2 separate regions of the Homo sapiens genome follow, and region 1 is linked to region 2. Evidence: promoter capture Hi-C in human tissues and cell types (Jung and others, 2019). All regions are on one chromosome and are shown on one strand. Each heading gives the region's core, a stretch centred on a gene start or on the middle of the fragment in contact. The rest is flanking DNA. Distances are from core to core; before and after follow the strand shown.

Evidence for each region. The method cuts DNA at HindIII sites, captures the fragments that hold promoters and counts their contacts. A contact is called where the count stands out against the background at its distance.
Region 1: a contact is called between a fragment that was not itself captured here and the fragment with the promoter of SNUPN in region 2, in 1 of the 25 tissues and cell types used here (psoas muscle).

Annotation. Positions count from the first base shown.
Region 1 is chr15:75,050,856-75,055,133 of GRCh38, reverse strand. No RefSeq gene overlaps it. Among named protein-coding and RNA genes, the nearest start is that of PPCDC, 29 kb to the right of the region's middle. RefSeq lists enhancers at 2,635-3,134, 3,135-3,636. The HindIII fragment of the contact is 8,061 bases long and covers 1-4,278 here.
Region 2 is chr15:75,622,985-75,627,103 of GRCh38, reverse strand. It overlaps SNUPN (snurportin 1), which reads left to right and starts at 1,379. Exons shown (of 9, transcript NM_005701.4): 1 at 1,379-1,438. RefSeq lists an enhancer at 1,011-1,200 and a silencer at 1,851-1,900. The HindIII fragment of the contact is 13,243 bases long and covers 1-4,119 here.

The sequences.
Region 1 (4,278 bases), core at 852-3,351, 570 kb after region 2:
TGGCATGACCATAGCTCACTGCAGCCTTGGACTCCTGGGCTCAAGCAATCCTCCCACCTCAGCCTCCTAAGTAGCTGGGAATACAGGCGTGTGCCACCATGTCCAGTTAGTTGTGTTTCTTTTGGTAGAGATGGAGTCTCACTGTGTTGCCTAGGCCTGTCTCAAACTTCTGGTCTTAAACTAATCCCTCTGCCTTGGCCTCCCAAAGTGTTGGGATTACAGGTGTGAGCCACTGTGCCTGACCACAAGGAACTCTTTTTAAAATGTATTTATTGATTTTGTGGTAGATAGTATATTCATCTGGCCCAACAATTAAAAATGAAGTCACCTCCTATCTTTTTTTTTTTTTTTTTTGAGACGGAGTCCTGGCCTGCCTCCTATCTTTGTTTCTCAACCACTCAGTTAGTTCCCCTGCCAAGAGAAAAACAATAGACAATGTTTTTCTCTGTTTATCTTTTTAAAGGCATTTGATGCACACACAAGCCAATAAGAATATATCCTCCTTTTCTTTCCCCACCCCCATTTTTTCTGCACAAGCATGCATGTGACATTCTTCTGCACCTTGCTTTTTCTGTTTAACAATGTACCTCAGAAGTCTTCCCAAATCAGCTTCCTCAACACTTTGTTTTATGGTTGTGTAGAGTTCCAGTGTATGAAGGAACACACTAATTTATTTATCCAATCTCCTGGCTGTTAGATAGTGAGGGTGTTTCCAGTCTTTTAGCACCATATGCGAGGCTGCAATAAATCTCCTGTTCAGACATAATGTCATACAACTGAGTGTATCTGTGGGACAAATCCCTAGAAGCAGAATTGCTAGGTCAAAGGGTAAGGTGCATATGTAATTTTTTTTTTTTTTTTTTGAGACAGAGTCTTTCTCTGTCACCTAGGTTGAAGTGCAGTGGTGCAATCTTGGCTCACTGCAACCTCCACCTCCCAGGTTGAAGCGATTCTCCTGCCTCAGCCTCCTGAGTAGCTGGGATTACAGGCATGCACCATCACACCTGACTTTGTATTTTTAGTAGAGACGGGGTTTCGCCATGTTGCCAGGCTGGTCTCAAACTCCTGAGCTCAGCCAATCTGCCCGCCTTGGCCTCCCAAAATGCTGGGATTACAGGCGTGAGCCACTGTGCCTGGCCTGGTCTTTCAGTACCATATACAAGCCTGCAATAAATCTGTTTAGACATAATGTCATAGAAGTGAGTGTATCTGTGGGACAAATCCCTAGAAGTAGAATTGCTGGGTCAAAGGGTAAGGTGCATACGTAGTTTTGATAGATACTCCGAGATTGTTCTCCAGTGAAGTTGCCATCAATTTACGCTCCTACCAGCAATGCATGAGGGCACCAATTCCCCACACCCCCACCAGTCTAACAGGCAAAAGTTTTAGGTCTAGCTTGATTTGCACCACTCTCCTCATGAATGTGGCTGAGTAGCTGTTTAAGGGCCCTTTGTGTGACTGGGTTTTTGGTTTTGTTTTTTTTTTTGTTTTTAATGTGAATTCTTCGTATCTTCTGCTCACTTTTTAATACATGTTCTTGGTCTTTTTTTCCTTTTTCTTTTTCTTTCTTTTTTTTTTTTTTTTTTTTTATTGAGATGGAATCTTGCTCAGTCACCCAGGCTGGAGTTCAGTGGCATGATCTCAGCTTACTGCAACCCCCGCCTCGCAGGTTCAAGCAATTCTCCTGCCTGAGCCACCCAAGTAGCTGGGACTACAGGCATGCACCACCATGTCTGGCTAATTTTTTGTATTTTAGTAGAGACAGGGTTTCACCAGGTAGGCCAGGTGGGTCTCAACTCCTTGAGCTCAGGCAATCTACCCACCTCGGCCTCCCAAAGGGCTAGGATTACAGGTGTGAGCTATTGTGCCCGGCCCTTGGTCTTTTTATCATCAATGCATAGGAGTTCTTCATATATTAGGAGAATCAGCCCTTTGTTTATGAGCTGCAGATAATTTCCCCAGCATGTTGTCCTTTGACCTTGACTTTGGGTTGTTGCTCAGTGAACCTATTTTTCTATAGTCAAATTTATCAATCTTTGCTTTTGTGGTTGCTAAATTTTGTCTCTTGCACAGAAAGGAGCAGGAACCAATAGCCCCAACACACACACCACTTTTTTGATCAGTACAAGCTTGGAGTGACTTACTGGGTTCTGTAAGGAACAGGACAACTCCTGCTCTCCAAGAGAACCCAATGTTAGGAGGACACAAAGTAAACTAACAATTACAATTCTGTTGTAATAAATAGTGGTGGCCGGGCACGGTGGCTCACTCCTGTAATTCCAGCACTTTGGGAGGCCGAGGCAGGAAGATCATGAGGTCAGGAGTTCGAGACCAGCCTGGCCAACATGGTGAAACCCCGTCTCTATTAAAAATACAAAAAAAAAAAAAAAAAAAATCAGGCCAGGTGCGATGGCTCACGCCTGTAATCCCAGCACTTTGGGAGGCTGAGGCAGGTGAATCACGAGGTCAGGAGATTGAGACCATCCTGGCTAACACAGTGAAACTCCGTCTCTATTAAAAATACAAAAAAAAAATTAGCCGGGCGTGGTGGCGGGCGCCTGTAGTCCCAGCTACTCAGGAGGCTGAGGCAGGAGAATGGCGTGAACCAGGGAGGCGGAGCTTGCAGTGAGCCAAGATCATGCCACTGCACTCCAGCCTGGGCGACAGAGCAAGACACCGTCTAAAAATTTTAAAAAAGAAAAAGAAAAAAAAAGCTGGGCATGGTGGTGCACACCTGTAATCCCAGCCTCTCAGGAGGCTGAAGCAGGAGAATTGCTTGAACCTGGGAGGCAGAGTTTACAGTGAGCTGAGACCGCACCACTGCACTCCAGTCTGGGCGAAAGAATGAGACTCCATCTCAAAAAATAAAAATAAAAATAAAAAATAATAGTGGGAAGCACCATGGCAACCTGGGCAAGGAGGTTGCAGTTGGCCAGGGAAGGCTTTCCAAAGGAGGTAGCACCCAGGTACATCCACAGGCATGTGTGGGAGTCAGTCTTATCCCAGTAAAAGCAGCAGCATGTGCACAGGCAAGAGGCCTCACAAGTTCAAGGTTGTCCAGTCTGGCAAGAGAATACGGAGCCCTTCAGGGTTGGCATGTGGTAAAGGGCAGTGCTAGAAGGGTAGGCAGGAGCCAGATCACAAAGGGCCAGGTGTGTACTGCCCAGGAGTCTGGGCCTGACCTGAGGCAGTGGGGAGGCAGCAGCGGCACCTGACCAGCGGGGTGCAGGAAGGGCTGGAGGCGGCCCAGGGTGGAAGCTGGGCCTTGGTTTGGTGGCTTCTGCCTCCCACCCAGCAGCATCCACAGCAGCCTTGAAGGGCTCATGGCTGCCACAAAAGAGTGCACATTTCAGACCCAAATGTTCTATTCTCTGAAACTTCCAGAATTCTATAAAAAATCATCAGGGAGGCTAGAATCTTCTCTGAGAAACATTTCTCCCCAAGATGAAGGTAACTTCAAGTGCTTGGACCCCTCGTGGGGAAAGCAGTGATTGTCACTCCCCACTCAGCACCTCCTTGGCAGATGGGGCCAGCTAAATGCAGCACCTGCTCCTCTTAGCTCCAGTCTGGTGCAGGGAACAGCTGGGCTCTTTAGGCCCAGCCCAGACCCATTCATCCAGACCCCCCGCTTCAAAATGGGCGGCAGGGATGCAGGACTGCTGTGGGTAGGAGATGGAGAGACGAACCCCCAGGGACAGGGGCCTCCAGCTGGCCTGAGTCCACAGGGATATATGTTCCCTTCTAGCCAACAAGGCGCAGTCCTGCTGAGCAGCCACAGCTGTTTTCAGAGCTCTGGGACAGTGGCCTGTGAACTTCCCTGCTCCCATGGCCTTTTCACACAGGCACTTTGTGGTTGATCTCCCTGGGTGACTGCCTTCCCTAAAATCCCTGGCATAGATCCTCGCCCACGATGAACACTCAGAAAATGCTATCAGTTTCTGTTAAAATTGGGAAGCGGCTGGGCGCGGTGGCTCACGCCTGTAATCCCAGCACTTTGGGAGGCCATGGCCAGCAGATCACTTGAGGTCAGGAGTTCAACATTAGTCTGGCCAACATGGCAAAACCCATCTCTACAAATAATACAAAAATAAGCTGGGCGTGGTGGCGGGCACCCGTAATCCCAGCTACTCAGGAGACTGACGAGGGAGAATGGCTTGAGCTGTGATCGCGCCACTGCACTCCAGCCTTGGGGACAGAGCAAGACTCCGTCTCAAAAAATAAATAAAAATAAAATTGGGAAGCCTCACCATTTACTAGTGGGTTGCTGAGGGAGAGGAA
Region 2 (4,119 bases), core at 130-2,629:
AAAAAATTAGCCGGGCATGGTGGCAGGCGCCTGTAGTCCCAGCTACTCAGTAGGCTGAGGCAGGAGAATGGCGTGAACCCGGGAGGCGGAGCTTGCAGTGAGCGGAGATTGCGCCACTGCACTCCAGAGCCTGGGCGACAGAGCGAGACTCCATCTCAAAAAAATAAAAAAAAATCTCACGTCCAGAAAAATTGGCCTTCCAGGGCCCCAGAACCCTTTTTACCAGTCTAGTAATAGCCTTTCATCAGCCTAATTTCCTATTCTTTTTAGTCTGAATGTATGGTGTAATGTGCATAAAATACACAAGTCCAAATTTTAGCATTCCGTGGACGCAAAATGTGCCAAAGGTGGATACTTTGCTTCTGTCATACATCGGTAGTCAACTTCCCTATACATCAAACTTTCAGCAAATTCAAACATTTTCCTTGAAAGCTGTGTTACTTTGGCCAAATTACTTAACCTCTCTGAGCTTCAGTGTGTCTACTTCCTCATGTCATGATTAAGAGTTAATATCTACTGGCTTAAAAAAGAAAAAAAAGGAAAAAAATTAAATGAGATGATGGGTGTGAAGCAGGGATTGGCTGAATGTAAGCATTCAATAAATATTCAGTTTTAAAATTGTAATCTCAGCCTTCCCGCCCTGCAGAGGCTACACCCTGGCAGGACTTAATCTCCTAAATCTCTGCCGCTTACCCTAGTCTTTTGCACCAATTTAATCATTCCTTCACGCAGGGTCTACTGAGCGCCATCCCTTGTGCTGGACTCTGGCTACTTAAATAGGAATCAAGCCAGGTCCCTACCATTGCTCAGCCCGCAGCCGAGTGGGAAAGAAGCTCGCAAAAGCAGCAAACAGGCAGTAATCGAGGTATGTATCTGCTTTTGTTAAGGGCAAGTGGGGGAGCGAAGGTCTGTGTCTGAAACTTGGGTGTGAGGGGTTAGTTGGAGTAATCCAGGCAATTGGCACTGCCCGTTTAAGAGCACGGGCCCAAGAGGGGAAGGGGACTCCAGGTGAAGCCCTAAGGCCCGGGAAGATCTGCGGGAGGCGGCAGGGCCCAGGGCGTTGAATGCCCGGCCACAAGATCAGCCTCCTCCCATTGGCGAAAGGAGCCCCGAAGAGCTTGTGTTCAGGAGGGAGGCCTCGGCCTGGTCAAGTCATCTAGCAGGAAGAGTCCCGGACAGTGCAAAGCAAATGCAAGAAGACCCCCTCCCTAGCCGATGGGAAATGCCCCAGCCGTTGAAGGCGGAAATAACGGCCTGTAGGCAACGGAACTCCCAGCGTTCGCAAAGGAGGGAGGAGCCGGAAACTCAGGGCGCGAGGCCTGTGGGCCCAGCGGTGAGGCAGCAGCTGGGGGCGGGGGGAGGGCGGACCTAGCTTCCCAGGGCAGGTGATTCGTCGGCCCCGGTGGCGGCGGCGCGTGCGACGGTCACCTCGGTTTGGGTGAGTCCCTGGGTTCGAGCCCGGGCCCCGCCAGCTGCCGAGTTGCCTCTCGGTGCCGGACTGTGACTCCCTCTGGCCGGCCCTGCACTCTGGCCTCCTGGGACGTCATCTGGAGGGATAGAGCCAGGCCTGGGACTCCTTTTGGGAGAGTTTCCGTTCTTCTATTCCGTGCTGTCCGGCCAGGACCCCTCAGGGACTTCTGTGGGGCAGGGGCGAATCATGCATGGCCTAGATGACCCCATGCCTAGAAAAAGGCAGTGCGGGGCGGTGGCGGCGCGCACGGCCGAGTGAAGCAGATAGCGTCCCCGGGGCTGGAGCCCGGTAGCAGGGGTAGGGAAACGCGGAGGCTGCCAGGATGCGGACCCAGGGGACGCGAGGCGGGGGCGCCGGATGGGGAGACGCGAAGGAGGGGGAAGGGGATGGGGGAGGGGGCTAGACAGGGAGGGAGGGTGGAGCGTGGGCGGGGCCTGGGGCGGGTCGGACTTTAGGGAGTTGGAGCGGGGGTTACTGGTGCTAAGACCACCTGGGGCTAAGGTCCGAACACTTGGAGGCAGCACCATCCAAGGAATGGGTTGAAACAGCAGGAGCCCGGCGGGGCGCAGTGGCTCACGCCTGTAATCCCAGCACTTTGGGAGGCCGAGGTGGGCGGATCACCTGAGGTCAGGAGTTTGAGACCAGCCTGACCAACATGGTGAAACCCCATCTGTACTAAAAATACAAAAAAAATTAGCCGGGCGTTGTGGCGCGTGCCTGTAATCCCAGCTACTCGGGAGGCTGAGGCAGGAGAATCGCTTGAATCCGGGAGATGGAGGTTGCAGTGAGCCGAGATCATGCCACTGCACTCCAGCCTGGGCAACAAGAGCGAAACTCTGTCTCAAAAAAAAAACAACAACAACAAAGAAAAAACAAAACGAAACAGCAGGAACCCGCCAAGAACAGCCTTGAAGGAAGGTAAAGGAACCGCCCCAGTATCCAGGACATCAGTTTTTCTTTTTTTTTTCTTTTTGAGACGAAGTCCAGGCTGGAGTGCAGTGGCACGATCTCGACTCACTGCAAGCTCCGCCTTACGGGTTCAAGCCATTCTCCTGCCTCAGCCTCCCGAGCATCTGGGACTACAGGCGCCCGTCACCATGCCTGGCTAATTTTTTTGTATTTTTTTTTTTTTTTTTAGTAGAGACGGGGTTTCACTGTGTTAGCCAGGATGGTCTCGATCTCCTAACCTCAGGTGATCTGCCCGCTTCAACCTCCCAAAGTGCTGGGATTACAGGCGTGAGCCACCGCGCCAGGCCCAGGACATCAGTTTCAAAGGTTGTGTGGTTCTTGGCAGAGCGGGAGCCCACACCAAGATAGTGCATGATAGGCCTAATAAAGGTGCTTTGGATTTGGTCATTACTTTGGTGATGAACTGAAAACATAATGACTTTTTAAAAATTTTTATCGGCCGGGCGCGGTGGCTCACGCCTGTAATCCCAGCACTTTGGGAGGCCGAGGCGGGCGGATCACGAGGTCAGGAGATCGAGACCATCCCGGCTAAAACGGTGAAACCCCGTCTCTACTGAAAATACAAAAAATTAGCCGGGCGTAGTGGCGGGCGCCTGTAGTCCCAGCTACTTGGGAGGCTGAGGCAGGAGAATGGCGTGAACCCGGGAGGCGGAGCTTGCAGTGAGCCGAGATCCCGCCACTGCACTCCAGCCTGGGCGACAGAGCGAGACTCCGTCTCAAAAAAAAAAAAAAAAAAAATTTTATCATGAAAGCTTTCAAACTTACACAAAAGTACAGAAAAGTAGAGACAATAGCATACATACCATTATGGATGATTTGAATAACATACCATATGGATCCCAAGCACTCATCATGAGGCCTCAGTCACTCAGGAATGGCAACCCTTGGTTGCATTGCAAAGATATTAAGGCACACCTCAAGCCGGGTGCAGTGGCTCATGCTTGTAATTCCAGCACTTTGGGAGGCTGAGGCAGGCAGATCACTTCAGGTCAGGAGTTTCAGACCAGCCACGCCAACATAATGAAACCTCTTCTCTACTAAAAATACAAAAATTAGCCGAGCATGGTGGTGCATGTCTATAATCCCAGCTACTCAGGAGGCTGAGGCAGGAGAGTTACTTGAACCCAGGAGGTGGAGGCTGCAGTGAGCCGAGATCACACCACTGTAGTCCAGCCTGGGAGACAAAGTGAGACCCTGTCTCAAAAAAAAAAAAAAGGCCGGGCGTGGTGGCTCACACCTGTAATCCCAGCACTTTGGGAGGCCAAGGTGGGCAGATCAGGAGGTCGGGAGATCGAGACCATCCTGGCTAACACGGTGAAACCCCGTCTCTACTAAAAAATACAAAAACAAAATTAGCCGGGCGTGGTGGCGGGCGCCTGTAATCCCAGCTACGCGGGAGGCTGAGGCAGGAGAATCACTTGAACCTGGGAGGCGGAGGTTGTGGTGAGCCAAGATCGTGCCATTGTGCTCCAGCCTGGGCAACAAGAGTGAAACTCTGTCTCAAAAAAAAAAAAGTTTCTTTTATGTTTAAAGGTTACAGAGGTTCAGTTATTCAAGATAAAAGGAGTTCTGGAGAGTTCTGCACAGCAGTGTTGAACATACTTAACTTTACAGAACTGTACACCTACAAATGGTTAAGATGATGAATTTCATGATATGTGTATTTAGCCACAATTTTT